3 separate regions of the Homo sapiens genome follow, and regions 1 and 2 are each linked to region 3. Evidence: promoter capture Hi-C in 16 types of primary human blood cells and fetal thymus (Javierre and others, 2016). All regions are on one chromosome and are shown on one strand. Each heading gives the region's core, a stretch centred on a gene start or on the middle of the fragment in contact. The rest is flanking DNA. Distances are from core to core; before and after follow the strand shown. Region 1 holds the start of DACT3-AS1 (DACT3 antisense RNA 1). Region 2 holds the start of PTGIR (prostaglandin I2 receptor). Region 3 holds the start of SAE1 (SUMO1 activating enzyme subunit 1).

The links. Contacts are between HindIII fragments. The CHiCAGO score rates a contact against its expected background, and 5 or more counts as called.
Region 1: a contact is called between the fragment with the promoter of DACT3-AS1 here and the fragment with the promoter of SAE1 in region 3, in 5 of 17 cell types (total B cells, non-activated CD4 T cells, naive B cells and 2 more). The highest score is 8.3, in total B cells.
Region 2: a contact is called between the fragment with the promoter of PTGIR here and the fragment with the promoter of SAE1 in region 3, in 1 of 17 cell types (total B cells). The highest score is 5.7, in total B cells.

What each region holds. Positions count from the first base shown.
Region 1 is chr19:46,658,987-46,663,349 of GRCh38, forward strand. DACT3-AS1 (DACT3 antisense RNA 1) reads left to right here and starts at 1,378. Exons shown (of 3, transcript NR_040042.1): 1 at 1,378-1,422. It overlaps DACT3 (dishevelled binding antagonist of beta catenin 3), which reads right to left and starts at 2,196. Exons shown (of 4, transcript NM_145056.3): 1 at 1,830-2,196. The coding sequence starts at 2,078. RefSeq lists silencers at 1,994-2,243, 2,454-2,573. The HindIII fragment of the contact is 2,055 bases long and covers 234-2,288 here.
Region 2 is chr19:46,621,884-46,626,376 of GRCh38, forward strand. It overlaps PTGIR (prostaglandin I2 receptor), which reads right to left and starts at 3,206. Exons shown (of 3, transcript NM_000960.4): 1 at 3,114-3,206; 2 at 1,575-2,354. The coding sequence starts at 2,342. RefSeq lists an enhancer at 3,421-3,921. The HindIII fragment of the contact is 25,896 bases long and covers 1-4,493 here.
Region 3 is chr19:47,128,026-47,132,688 of GRCh38, forward strand. It overlaps SAE1 (SUMO1 activating enzyme subunit 1), which reads left to right and starts at 2,810. Exons shown (of 9, transcript NM_005500.3): 1 at 2,810-3,003. The coding sequence starts at 2,906. RefSeq lists enhancers at 2,584-3,198, 2,891-3,130. The HindIII fragment of the contact is 6,112 bases long and covers 453-4,663 here.

The DNA of each region.
Region 1 (4,363 bases), core at 128-2,627, 470 kb before region 3:
GAAAGTAATCAAGTCTGGCTTCAGTCTTTCTTGCCTTGAAGGAAGTGTATTCCTGGCAGGGGCTGGGGGTGGGGGGATAAGTCATAAGACAAGGGTTGGGGGATCAGAAGAAGCCCTAATCCACTCTTCAGAGGGACCCAGGAACCCCCAGCACTAGAGAAGTTTATATTTAGCGCTTCTCTGCTCCTCCTCCTCCCCCCGCCTGCCACCGCCTCCTCCCTGATGCTGGGACAAGCTTTGCCTAGAGACTGGGGGGTGGGGGGACAGGCCTCTCCACTATCAGCTCGTGCCGGGAGGACAGAGGGCTGAGGGGGAGGAGGGGACAGAGGGACCGAGGAGAGGGAGACTGAAGGGCAGAGATGGGGAAGGTGAAGGGTGAAAAGGGGAGAGACCGAGGGCAGAGGGGGAGAGGACACAGCTACCCACAGCTACCCCAACCTCATGCCTCGCATTCTCCTTGTCAGGATGGAAGGCGCCTTCCAAGCCGAGCCAGCTTGGGGTGGGGGGAGCTAGCGAAGGCCCCCACAATCCGTCTCTAACTTTGGGAGGGGGTGGGGCCTCCCACAGCTGTTTCTGTTTCCAGAAAAGAATGTGCAGGGGGGTCCCACTCCTGAGAGGGGGAGGGGCCGGGCGTGCAGCCCCGGGAGCCTGGCTTCAGTCTTCCTCCCCACTCCCCATCTGGGGAGGGGGCGGTCGAGGTCAGCGGCGGGGAGAGCCCCCTCCACTGCCACCTCGGCTCAGGTTTCCCGAAACGGGAAGCTCTGGCCACACACAGGCTTGGGGATGGGGATCTGCCGTGGAGCCAGGGTGTGCGGGCTGGGGGGAGGGGAAGACAGACTGAGCCTGGGACGTCGGGCAAGAAGAAGAGAGCGAGGTGCAGACAGGCAGGAAGGGAAGGCCAAGGAGACAGATGCAGAGGGACACAGAGATCACAGAGACAGAGAGACAGGATGAAGAAAGAGAAGCAGACACAGAAAGTCACAGGGATGTGGCAGGACGGAGAGAGTGACAGAACCCAGGACGAGATCGGGAGACTCAAGGAATGACATAGAAAGGGGAGAGGCATGGGGCGTCCTCAAGTCATTCCGGAGACCTCTGCCCATCTTCCACCATGAGAACACCCAGAGTCCAGAAGTCTCCCCCAGGCGCTGCCTCGACCTGCCTCCCCTTGGGTCAAGGAGAGCTGGGGCCAGGTAGGAAGCAGGGGAAGTGTCACCAAAGGGTCAAGATCCCAGTGGGGGGTCCTCAGGGACTGTGAGCTTCCTCTCAGCAGTGGTCCCTCCCTCTGGAGGCCCTGAGATTCCCCTCCTCCCACCCCGCCCCCTCCAGAGATCTCCAAGCACACCAGGACTTAGGGAAGATGGAGCCCTGGTGGCGGGGCCCAGAGAAGGGCATGTTTGGAGCCTGGCTGTGTCACCTTGGGTGAGTCGCTTGCTCTCTCTGAGCCTCAATTTGTTTCTCTGTTAAATGGGGACTATCACCCCGTTTCCCAAGCCGCAAGAAGACAACGCCTGCAAAGTACCCGGTCTCGGGTTTGACACATACTTGGCGCCCACAAGGATTTTCTTTGGGGAAGGGGTGTAAGAGACAGGGCCTGTGTTTCTCACGAGGCCCCAGTGGGGGCGATGCAGTTCCCCCTCCCCCGATTTGGGGGCGGGGAGGCCAGGTCCGGCCCGCCGCCGGAACTCCGGGGTCGCCAGCCCCACCCCCTGTCCTTTCTCACTCCCTGCCTACCCGGGTCCCCAACCCCCGCCCGGTGTCTGAGCATCCAACCGAGACAGACAGACACAGACGGGGGTGGAGGGACGGACGGACAGGCAGCCCCTTACCAGCTGCTCCTCCAGGGCCGCTGCGGCCCGGCGCGCCGCCGCCGCATCTTCATCCTCATCGGCGTCCTCCTCGTCCTCGGCCTCGGCGCCCCCCATTCCGGGCTGGGCCAGCCGCAGCGCCTGCTGCACGCGGTACTCCTGCCTCTCCCGGAGCCAATGTAACTCGCAGAGCCCGGCCAGGCTACCCTCCAGCCAGCCCCGCAGCCGGCCCCGCTCAGGGCTCACCGGGAACGAGAAGGCCCGGATCATGGCTGCGGCCCCCCGCCCCAGCCCGGCCGGGCCCCGCGGCCACCCCTCTCCCGGTCCCACCTCCCCGCCCCAGCAGCCTGCCCGCCCGCCCGCTGGCCGGGCTGTCACCGTCTCATCTGCATAGGCGCCCGCCCATTGGGCCGCCCACCCGCGCCTTATCTGCATGGCCACGCCCCCGGCGACCGAGCAACAGCCGCCTATTGGCGAATAAGCTTCCTGACGAAGACTCTCGGGCGTGCAACCGCACCGCCCAACACGACGCATGCTCGCAACTGCCTACTCACTCCGCTCGCCACGCCCCCTCCGTGCAACTGCCTCGGGGCCCTGGCCACGCCCCCCCACGCGTCACAATGAAACAAGCCCGCCCTTGCTTCAATGCCATTGGTCTGTGCCTGGCCGGTCCTGCAGCAGGTTCCACCCTCTTGCGGGCGAGCGCTGGCTACCATTGGACTGTCCGGCGCGAGGGGAAGGGTGATCTATAAATAGGGAATGGGTACACGTGACAGTTTGGCAGCTGCTCCTACCCCTCCACCCCGCCCAACCTTCAGCTTCTGAGGCTGCGCAGGGGGAGAAAAGGGTTAGGGGGTCGAGCCCTGACTTCGCCTCCTCTTCCAAGAAGCCTTCCCAGACACTCAGCTGTAAAACCAGACGGACGTCCTCCGATGAAATTGTTTCTACTTAGGGCCGGCTTCACCGGCTTGGAATCCACTTAGAAGGGTCTTCGCGCTTGGTTGAATGTTCTGCAATTTCTGTCTTGAAATTTTTAGTTTTTGAGCAAGGGGCCCCTTATTTTCACTTTGCACTAGGCCAAATATGTAGCCGGTCTTGCTGCTAAGAGTCTAAGATCGATTGCATTCCAAATTCTGGAATTATAAGACCCTGGGTGGAAGATTCTATGCTTTGACCAGAAGAGAGTCTAAGCAGCTTTTGTCTCCCAGGTGCTAGGAGGATGTGTGCTCATCATTCTTCCATTCCAGGGGCCTTTGTTCTACGTTCTAAGGGGCTTTGTTCTCAGCCTTCTATGATGCTCTATTCTCAACGTTCTCTGGTCCTAGGAGTCTGAGCCTGACATTCGTTTCCAAGGCTTCCTGCTGTCTCTCCAGGCTCCGCAAGCAGGGCTGGGGCACCCTCAGGCGGCCAATCTGTATCACTACGCCGAGCCTGCCTCTACCAACTTCCAAGACCTAGCTCTAATATTCATACTCATCTCTCAGACAGACCTTGGCTCCCTAAAAGCCAAGGCCCAGAAGATCATACAAGAAATTCCCTCTTTTATGATTCCCCGTGCACGAAGTGACCTTCTGGTGGTGAGATGGAGAGAAATTGATAGTGGCGATAGACAGCAAAGTCTCCAGGAGCCAGACTTCCTCGGGGTGAGTCACAGATCTGTCACTTTCCAGCTGTGTGACCTTGGAAAACTTACTTAACCTCTCTGTGCCACCGTTTCTTCATCTGATCACGGGATCATAATACTGGCTGCCTCATACAGTTGTTCTGAGGATTCAATGAAATGTATTAGGTACTTGGAGCAGTGTCTTCCATGGATTAAGAGCCACAGAAGGGTTTGACAAATAAGTTTAAAAACTAATCTAGTAAGTTTCCGGGGGGAAATGTCTTGAAATTTATTAGAGACAACCTTTATTCAGTCTTCCTCTTGTTCAAAATAGACTTAGAAAATTAGTCGGGTGTGGTGGTGCACACCTGTAGCCCCAGCTACTTGGGAGGCTGAGGCGGGAGGATCACTTGATTTCCTTTTTGACTTCTTGATGCTTTTATTAATGATGATGCCAAAAGATTTCTGGAGAATCAGCCAGGCGCAGTGGCTCACGTCTGTAATCCCAGTACTTTGGGAGGCTGAGGCGGGCAGATCACCTGAGTTCAGGAGTTCAGATCAGCCTGGCCAACATGGCGAAACCCCATCTGTACTAAAAATACAAAAATTAGCTGGGCATGATGGCACACACCGAGACTGTGGCACTGCACTCCAGCCTGGGTAACAGAGGGAGACTCCGTCTCAAAAAAAGAAAGAAAGAAAGAAATTGAGAGAGAGAGAGAGAGAAAGAAAGAAAGAAAAAGAAAGAGAGAGAGAAAGAAAGATAGATGTCTGGAGAATCAACAAGCAACAGTTGCTTCCAAACATGGCACACAAACTGGATATGGTGGCATGTACCTGTAGTGCGAGCTACTCAGGAGGCTGAGGCAGGAGGATCACTTGAGCCTGGGAGGCTGAGGCTACAGTGAGCCATGATTGCACCATTGCACTCCAGCCTGGGTGACAGAGCAAG
Region 2 (4,493 bases), core at 1,956-4,455, 510 kb before region 3:
GGGGGCCAGGTATGTGGGTCCCCCCACCCTTGGAAGCTGGGAGGACCCTCGGGCTCCACAGATTTTTGAGTATAACGTCCCTGCAAGAAGGTGGCGCCACCCGGCTGGGCCCCCTGAAACTGCCGCAGAGCTGCGGTGGTGCCTGTGTGTATCTGTCCACGGCATCTGAGTCTCTGAGTCAGAGTAACCCCCAAAAAAGATTTAAGGACCCCCCAATCCGGCCTGGCCTCTTGCATTTTACAGAAACAGAAACTGAAGCTCAGAAGAAAGGTGGCACGACCAGGTGTCACAGACACTGAGTGGGTACCAGGGTCTGTGCCACTCCCATTGGGGAGGGGCAGGACGGGGTCCCCGCAGGAAACCGAGGTGCAGAGGCAAGGGTGGGGCCTGCTCTGAGGCAGAGGGGAGCCAGGTAGGTGGGAGATCAGGCTCTACAATGGAAGGACCCAGGACCAGGACCTGGCTCTGTGTGACTGGGCGAAAGACACTGCCCCTCATCTGTAAAAACGGGGATGGGAGAGAACGTTCTCTTGGTTTCCTGCCAAATACTGTGGAATGGGTGGCTATGATCATTTTGAAAATTATCTTAGGAAGTATCTGTAAGCCACTAAGCACGGGGCGGGCATAGAGAAGTGCTCAATGAGTGGTGGTCTTGTCATTACAGGGGTGGGGAAGGATGGGGGATGCATTTCATCATGGGGGGCTCAGGATGCCTAAGCTGGGAGACAAGGTATCAGAAGAAGTCAGATGCAGAAAGACCCCTCCAGAAAGCCAGGAGCTGTCTGACTGAGGACCAAGCCTCTGTCTGATTTGTTTTTGTTTTCTTTGTTTTTGTTTTGAGACAAGGTCTTGCTCTGTCAGCTAGGCTGGGATGCAGTGGTATAATCACAGCTCACTGCAGCCTCAACCTCCCAGGCCGGAGCAATCCTCCCACCTCAGCCTCACAAGTAGCTGAGACCACAGGCACAGGCCATCATGCCAGGCTAATTTTTAAATGTTTCATAGAGATGGGGTTTCACCATGTTGCCCAGGCTGGTCTCAAACCTCTGGGCTCAAGTGATCGTCCTGCCTCGCCTTTCTTTTTCTTTTTTTTCTTATTTTTTTTTTTTTTTTTTTGGGACGGGGTCTCACTCTGTCACCCAGGCTATAGTGCAGTGGCACGATCTCAGCTCACTGCAACCTCCGCCTCCGGGGTTCAAGCGATTCTCCTGGCTCAGCCTCCCAAGTAGCTGGGACTTCAGGCATGTGCCACTACGTCCGGCTACTTTTTATTTATTTATTTGTTGTATTTTTAGTAGAGACAGGGTTTCATCATGTTGGCCAGACTGGTCTCGAACTCCTGACCTCAAATGATCCGCCGGCCTCGGCCTCCCAAAGTGCTGGGATTACAGGTGTGAGCCACCGCATCCGGTCCTGCCTCGGCCTTTCTACATGCTGGGATTACAGGCGTGAGCCACCATGCCCACGATGTCTCACCTCTTTTGAGCCTCAGTCTCCCCATCTGTGACATGGGCACAACCCACAGAGCTGCCCTCCTCCTCTCCCCACTCCTCCCAGCTCCGGAGGGGACTCACCGTGAGAGGCAGGGAGCACACGGCCATGACCACTGTCATGAGGGCCAGCAGGATCAGGTGGTCCACCTCGTCCTCTCCGGTGCGCGGCCGTGGACCCAGAGAGCCCTGGTGGCGCTTCTGCTGGCGGTACATGCGGCAGAGGCTGAGGGTGACCGAGCCGTTGCAGAGGAAGATGGCAGCCACCAGCAGGGCCACCAGGCCGGCGTAGGCCAGCGAGAAGGCGGCGCCGCCCGGCTGGGCCCAGCGCATGCGGAGGAAGCACCAGCTGCCGGGGCAGTACTGCTGGTGTTGGCCCAGGCCCAGCAGGGGCAGCGCGCAGAAGAGGACGCAGAAGGCGTAGATGGCTGGCAGCGCCAGGCGGGCGCAGCGGGGCCCGTCCAGCTGCGCGTAGAGGTAGGGGTGGCTCAGCGCCAGGCAGCGCTCCACGGCCATGGCAAAGAGGATGAGCATGGACGCCAGGCCGAAGAAGGTCATGGCGAAGGCGAAGGCATCGCACAGGGCGGGGCCGCCTCGGGCCAGGCCCAGCAGGGAGCTGTTGCGCGCATAGGCCACGAACACGGCCGGGCTCAGGAAGCTGGTGCCCAGCAGGTCGGTGGCCGCCAGTCCGGTCACCAGCACCGCGAAGGCCGAGGGGCGCGCCGGTCGCCGTGCGCTCAGGATGCCCAGGGCCAGCCCGTTGCCCACCACACCGGCCACGAACATCAGGGTGCTGGTGGCCGGCCCCACCGAGCCCCGCACGTAGGTGAGGTTCCTGCACGAATCCGCCATCCCAGGTCTGGGCTGGAGGGTTCCCAAGGTGGGGGGTCAGAGGGAGCCAGGGCTACCCCCACCACCCAGCCCACTCAGATGTCCCTGCTGGCCAGTCCTTTTGGCAGCTGGGGCCTCCCAGCCAACCCCCAGTTCTCCTGTGTGTGCGGGTATGCAGTCCTCTCCCCTCTGGCTTCTCCAGTATCTCTCTCTGTCTCTCCCCACCTTCCTGTTTCTCTTTCTCTCTTTCTTTTCTTTCGTTTCTTTTGAGACAGAGTCTCACTCTGTTGTCCAGGATGGAGAGCAATGGCATGATCTCGGCTCACTGCAACCTCCACCTCCTGGGTTCAAGCGATTCTCCTGCCCCAGCCTCTGGAGTAGATGAGATTACAGGCGTCCACTACCACGCCCAGCTAATTTTTGTATTTTCAGTAGAGACGGGGTTCCACCATGTTGGTCAGGCTGGTCTCGAACTCCTGACCTCAGGTGATCCATCCACCTTGGCTTCCCAAAGTGCTGAGATTACAGGTGTGAGCCACCATGCCTGACACCCACCACCCCCCCACCACCTCCTGTTTCTTTCCTTCTCTAGCTCTGTTTCTGCCATTAAAGAGACAGAGAACATCCGGGCATTGCCAGTTCTTTCCCTCCCTGTCTCTCGGTCTCTTGCTGATATCTCCCTGTCTCTGTCCCCTCCCTTGTCCTTGTCCTCCCCGTACCTTTCTCCCTCTAACCCCACACCCTCTACCTGCTCCTGCTCTGTGTTGCTGCATCCCCAGCCCCTCACCGCACCTCTCCAGTCTTGCCCAGGCTCTCCTGTCCCGTGCGTCTGTGCCTTCACTTGCTTTGCTCCTCGTGTCTCTCGCTGCCTGTGTCGGTCTGTGTGTCAGCTTCTCCTTCCCTCCTCCCTCCGTCCCTCCCTCCTTCCCACCCTCCTCAGCTTGCCTGCTCACCCCAGCTTTTTCATTTCCTCTCTCTGCCCCGCCCTCCCTCACTGTTCTCCAGAGGGCCCCCTGGCACACTCCCCACTCCCCGTCCACCCGCCCAATCCAGGACATCCATCTCCCATCGCTGCCTCCACTCTCCTCCCCACATCCTCTCTTGGTTCCCATCACTGAGCCACCTGCCACCTCCCCACACACAGGTCTCCTCCCTCCCCCAGTGTCTCCCTCTCTGGCCTGGGTGGGGAATTCCTGAGTCACCATCACTTAGGCTTGGAGCCTCCCGGGGTAGTAGGGGGCCTCTAGGAGGGACCTGAAGAGCACAGTTGACCAGGCTTCAGTGGGGTGGTCTTGGCCTGGGCTGTCTCAGGGTGGCCTCTGGGATCTATTCTGGGCTCCAGGCCCCGGGGCTGAGGACATTGCCCAGGGATTGAGAAATGACCAGGAAATTCCTCTCTGATGTAGTGTTTTCCAGACACCACTGAGAGTTCTGGTCCCTGGACACAATTCACTCCTTCCAGAAAGCTGAGGAAGGAGGCTTGGCCAGAGAGAGACATGCCAGTCCCTCGAGCCTGTCCCTGGGCACCCAGCTCACCCTGCAGAGACCCGAGAAGAAAGCATGAAGGGGTGTATTTGGTGTCCAGTTGTCAGGGACAGGCTTGGGAGACTTCCATGGCCCATGATGGAAAGGTAGCACTGGGCCACCGTCCGACTTCTCGCACAGCACCCCTAGGCCCCAGGCCAAGCTCTGGTGACCTTGACCTTCAGGAATCATATTTTGATCACAGGAAGCTGTCCACAGCTCCAACATTGCTGCCATGTGTCCCCCACCCTCCCCAAACACAGCCAAGCCACCACCGCTGCAGCCTCGGGCCAGTGTGACAGACCCACATGTTCCCGCTACCCGCACAGCGTTCACGGGTCTCCCTTCCCACGGAGTCGGTGGCTTCCCAGGCAGCCTCCCAGCCCAAAAGGGCCAGATAAAACCTCAGAGACCCTCTCTGAGCCCCGCTGTTTCTCAGGGGGACGGTCTCAGATCCATTCGACTTGGCTTCCTGTTTCCATCTGACCACCTTTTTTCTTGCTGCGAGATGGTCCCAGGTGAGGAGAGGGAGCTGGTAGACTTCAGCCTCCTTCTCTGTGCGTGGGGTAACACGGGCCTCAGGGACCTGGTGGCCAGCCTCGGCCTGCAGCACATCCCAGATTGGTCTTTGTAACAAGGAGAGAGGCT
Region 3 (4,663 bases), core at 1,560-4,059:
AGACGGGGTCTGGCTGTGTTTGACAGCCTCAAACTCCTGGCCTCAAGTGATCCTCTCAAAGTGTTGGGATTACAGACATGAGCCACAGTGCCTGGCCTATTGAAAGCTTTTCCATCATAATAGGTCCTTCCCCCCAATGCTTGCAGCAAGTCAATAGTAGGAGACCCCAGGTTGCAGCAGAGAAAGAGGTTTAATCATAGGGGCCACTGAAAACCAAGAGAGGAGATGGAAGGAACCACGAATCCACTTCCCCAGGGAGTTCGGGGCTTTTTAAGGGTTTTGGAGTGGGTTGAAGTGTGGAGGTCATTGGTTGGTTGAAGTGTGCAGGGTGAAGTAATGAAACAGGGAGTTGAAGAAACTCTATTCTCCTGTCGATTTGGTTCCTCTGCGGGGTCTTCACACTGGTTGGTATCAGCTGTTTTGCTGGAATTCAGGATCTGAAAAATATCTTAAGCTTTTTTTTTTTTTTTTTTTTTTTTGAGACAAGGTCTGTTGTCCAGGCTGGAGTGCAGTGGTGCCATCATAGCTCATTGCAGCCTCTAACGCCTGGGCTCAAAGGATCCTTCCACCTTAGCCTCCCAAGTAGCTGGGATTACAGGCACGCACCACCACACCCAGCTAATTAAAAAATTTTTTTTTTTGTAGAGACAGGGGTCTTGTCATGTTGCCCAGGCTGGTCATGAACTCCTGACTTCAAGTGATTTTCCTATCTCAGTCTCCTAAAGCGCATGGATTACAGGCATGAGCCACCATGCCGGGCGCTAAGCAATTCTTATTATTTATTTATTTATTTATTTATTTATTTTTTTCTGAGACGGAGTCTTGCTCTGTTGCCCAGGCTGGAGTGCAGTGGCGCGAACTCGGCTCACTGCAAGCTCCATCTCCCAGGTTCATGCTATTCTCTTGCCTCAGCCTCCTCAGTAGCTGGGACTACATGCGCCTGCCACCACGCCCGGCTAATTTTTTGTAGTTTTAGTAGAGACAAGGTTTCACCATGTTAGCCAGGCTGATCTCGAACTCCTGACCTCGTGATCCGCCCACCTCTGCCTCCCAAAATGCTGGGATTACAGGCGTGAGCCACCACCTCCGGCCTAAGCAATTCTTAAATAAAAATCTATGATTCCGCCAGGCATGGTGGCTCACACCTGTAATCCGTGCACTTTGGGAGGCCGAGGCGGGTGGATCACAAGTTCAGGAGTTCGAGACCAGCCTGGCCAACATGGTGCAATCCCTGTCTCTACTAAAAATACAAAAGTTAGGTGGGCATGGTGGCTTTTTTTTTTTTTTTTTTAGACGGGAGTCTCTGTCATCCATGCTGGAGTGCAGTGGCAGGATCTTGGCTCACTGCAACCTCTGCCTCCCAGGTTCAAGCGATTCTCCGGCCTCAGCCTCCCAATTGGCTGAGACTACAGGCGTGTGCCACCACGCCCGGCTAATTTTTTAGTATTAGTAGAGATGGGGGTTTCACCATCTTGGCCGGGCTGGTCTCGAACTCCTGACTTCGTGATCTGCCCTCCCTGGCGTCCCAAAGTGCTGGGATTACAGGCATGAGCCACTGTGCCCTGCCAAAAAGCCTATGATTCTAACATCAGAAATCCTTCCACCTCAGCCTCCCACGTAGCTGGGACTATAGACTCAGTACCACCACACCAAGCTAATTTTTGTATTTTTAATAGAGATAGCGTTTCCCTATATTGACCACCTGGGGCCATCCCTGGTTTTTTTTTTTTTTCCCTTCCTTCCTTCCTTTCCCTCTCTCTTTCCCTCCCTCCTTCCTTCCTTTCTTTCTTTCTTTCTTTTTTTTTTTTTTTTACAGAGTCTTGCTCTGTTACCCAGGTTGGAGTGCAGAGGCATGATCTTGGCTTACTACAACCTCCGCCTCCCGGATTCAAGCAATTATCCTACCTCAGCCTTCCAAGTAGCTGGGACTACAAGTGTGAGCCACCATGCCCTGCTAATTTTTTTATTTTTACTAAAGACGGGATTTCACCACATTAGCCAGGCTGGTCTCCAACTCCTGATTTAAAGTAATCTGCCTGCCTTGGCCTTCCGAAGTGCTGAGATTACAGGTGCGAGTCACCGTGCCTGGCCTATTCCTGTTTTCTTAACGCTCCTCTCTCCCACTGGGCCGTGACTGCCTCTAAGGCAGAGATGTGTTCATTTTTATTATTATTGTATGTCCAGGGCTGGGCACAAAGTGCAACACATAGTAGGGACATGAAAGGCTGGGCACAGTGGCTCATGGTTGTAATCCCAGCACTTTGGGAGGCAGAGGCGGGAGGATGGCTTGAGGCCAGGAGTTGGAGACCAGCCTAGGCAACAGAGGGACCCCATCTCTATGAAAAAAAAAAAAAAAAATTGACAGTTCAATGTCACCTCTGATAAGCCTTCCCTGACCACCCCTGTTACTCTGTAGCCCCATGTCCTGCTTTATTTTTCTCCAAAGCATTTATCATCGCTGGGTTTATATTTATTTCTCTTCGGGCTTTTCTCACTGGATCGTAAACTCCATGAGGACAGGGCTTTGTCGATTTCACTCAATACCGTTATTTTACAACATCCCTATTGCTGGGATCTCAGTATGCACTCCTTAAATATTTGCAGAATTTAAGTGCCACATAAGTGACCACGTGGGCAACGCCCTCGGGGCCTTAAGCCGCGCCATTTTTGGGGCTAGGATTGGTTGGACCCTCCGTCACGTGACATGCAGTCGCCGGATCGCCTTTGAGTCTCGTGAGGTACTTTTGGTCCCAGGCTCCGCGGACGAGGTACTGCGCAGGCGTGGGAGGGTCTGCGCATGCGCAGAAGCACTCCGGGCGTGCTGCCGGCGGCGGTAGGTGGCGCGCGGGTCCGGCGGGCGGTTGGCTTGAGCGGGACCGGAGCTGAGGCAGGAAGAGCCGGCGCCATGGTGGAGAAGGAGGAGGCTGGCGGCGGCATTAGCGAGGAGGAGGCGGCACAGTATGACCGGCAGATCCGCCTGTGGGGACTGGAGGCCCAGAAACGGTCAGGGCCGGCGCGGCTTGAGGCCGCTAGGGTCTGGAGGGGGCGTCTATTCTGAGGCGTTTGCGGCCCGGAAGGAGCGGGAAGGTGTGATTTGAAGGGAGGAGGCGGGAATTCTGTGCTCTGGGATCGTCTCTCTCTTGGGGGGACTGGAGGAGTTGATTGGGGATGTTTCTGGAAGGTCTGGGAAGTGGTTGGGAGGGCCGTTCCGAAGGATGGGAGCTCTGAAGGGGGCGTTGGGGAGTCCTGAGAGAGCGGGAGAATTCAAACTCAGGAAATCCGAGGCCCGAAAGCGGTGATTGTGGGGTTTGATCGCGGTTAGGGGATAAGAGGGGCTGGGGATACGTGGAAAGGGTGAGGTGAGGGACGCAGTTCATTCATTCGAGGGTATGGGACCTGGTTCCGTGCTGCACACAGGGGAGACTGGACTGGCCAACCGGACAGACGGGAGCTTACACTCTTGTGGGAGCTCACGGGCGGGCCAGTCTGAGAGAATGCGGGTTTTGAGGAGTTTTGGAGCAAGTTATCTCAAATGGGAATCTTGAGAGGCTCGGAGAGGCTGGAGGGGGACGGCCGTAGGCTCCCGAAAAGGTTGCTTGTGTTTGGTATGGGGCTGTGTCTTGATAGGACAGGAGACGTAGTTTGGGCATTGTGGAGTAGCTTAGGGAATTCTTTTTTTTTTTTTTTTTTTTTTTGAGATAGTCTCTCTCTGTCGCCCAGGCTGGAGGGCAGTGGCGCGATCTCGGCTCACTGCAACCTCTGCCTCCCGGATTCAAGCGATTCTCCTAACTCAGCCTCCCGAGTAGCTGGGATTATAGGGGCCCGCCAGCACGCCCGGCTAATTTTTGTATTTTTAGTAGACACGGGGTTTCGCCATATTGACGAGACTGGTCTCGATCTCCTTACCTCAAGTGATCCACCCGCCTCGGCCTCCTGAAGTGCTGGGATTACAGGAGTGAGCCACCGCGCCAGGACGTCTTTTGTTTTGTGCAGTTGGGTGACCTCGGTTCACTGCAGCCTCTGGCCTCCCGGGTTCAAGACTTCCTCTCACCTCAGTCTTCTGAGTAGCTGGGATTACAGGCTCGCGCCACCATGCCTGGCTAATTTTTGTATTTTTAGTAGACATGGGTTTTCACCATGTTGGCCAGGCTGGTCTCAAACTCCGGACCTCAAGTGATCTGCCCGCCACAGCCTCCCAAAGTGGTTGGATTACAGACGTGAGCCACTGTGCCCAGCTTGTTTTTTTTTTTTTTCTTTCTCTGTGGCCCAGTGGAGTGCAGTGGTGGGATCACAGCTCACTGTAGCCTCAACCTCCAAGGCTCAAGGGATATTCCCTCTTCAGCCTCCCAAGTAGCTGGGACTACAGGCGTGCCCCACCACATCATCCGACTAATTTTTGTTTTTTTTTTTTTTTGTAGGATGGGGTTTTGCCATGTTGCCCAGACTGGTCTTGAACTCCCAAGCTCAAGCGATCCTCGGCCTCAAGAGATCTCCCCCCATCTCAGACTCCTAAAATGCTGGGATTACAGGCATGAGCTACCATGCCTGGCCTCATTGATCAATATTTTTACTTAGCCTGGACGCAGTGACTCACACCTGTAATCCCAGCACTTTGGGAAGCTGAGTTGGGGGGAGGGGACCTCTTGAGCCCAGGAGTTTGAGA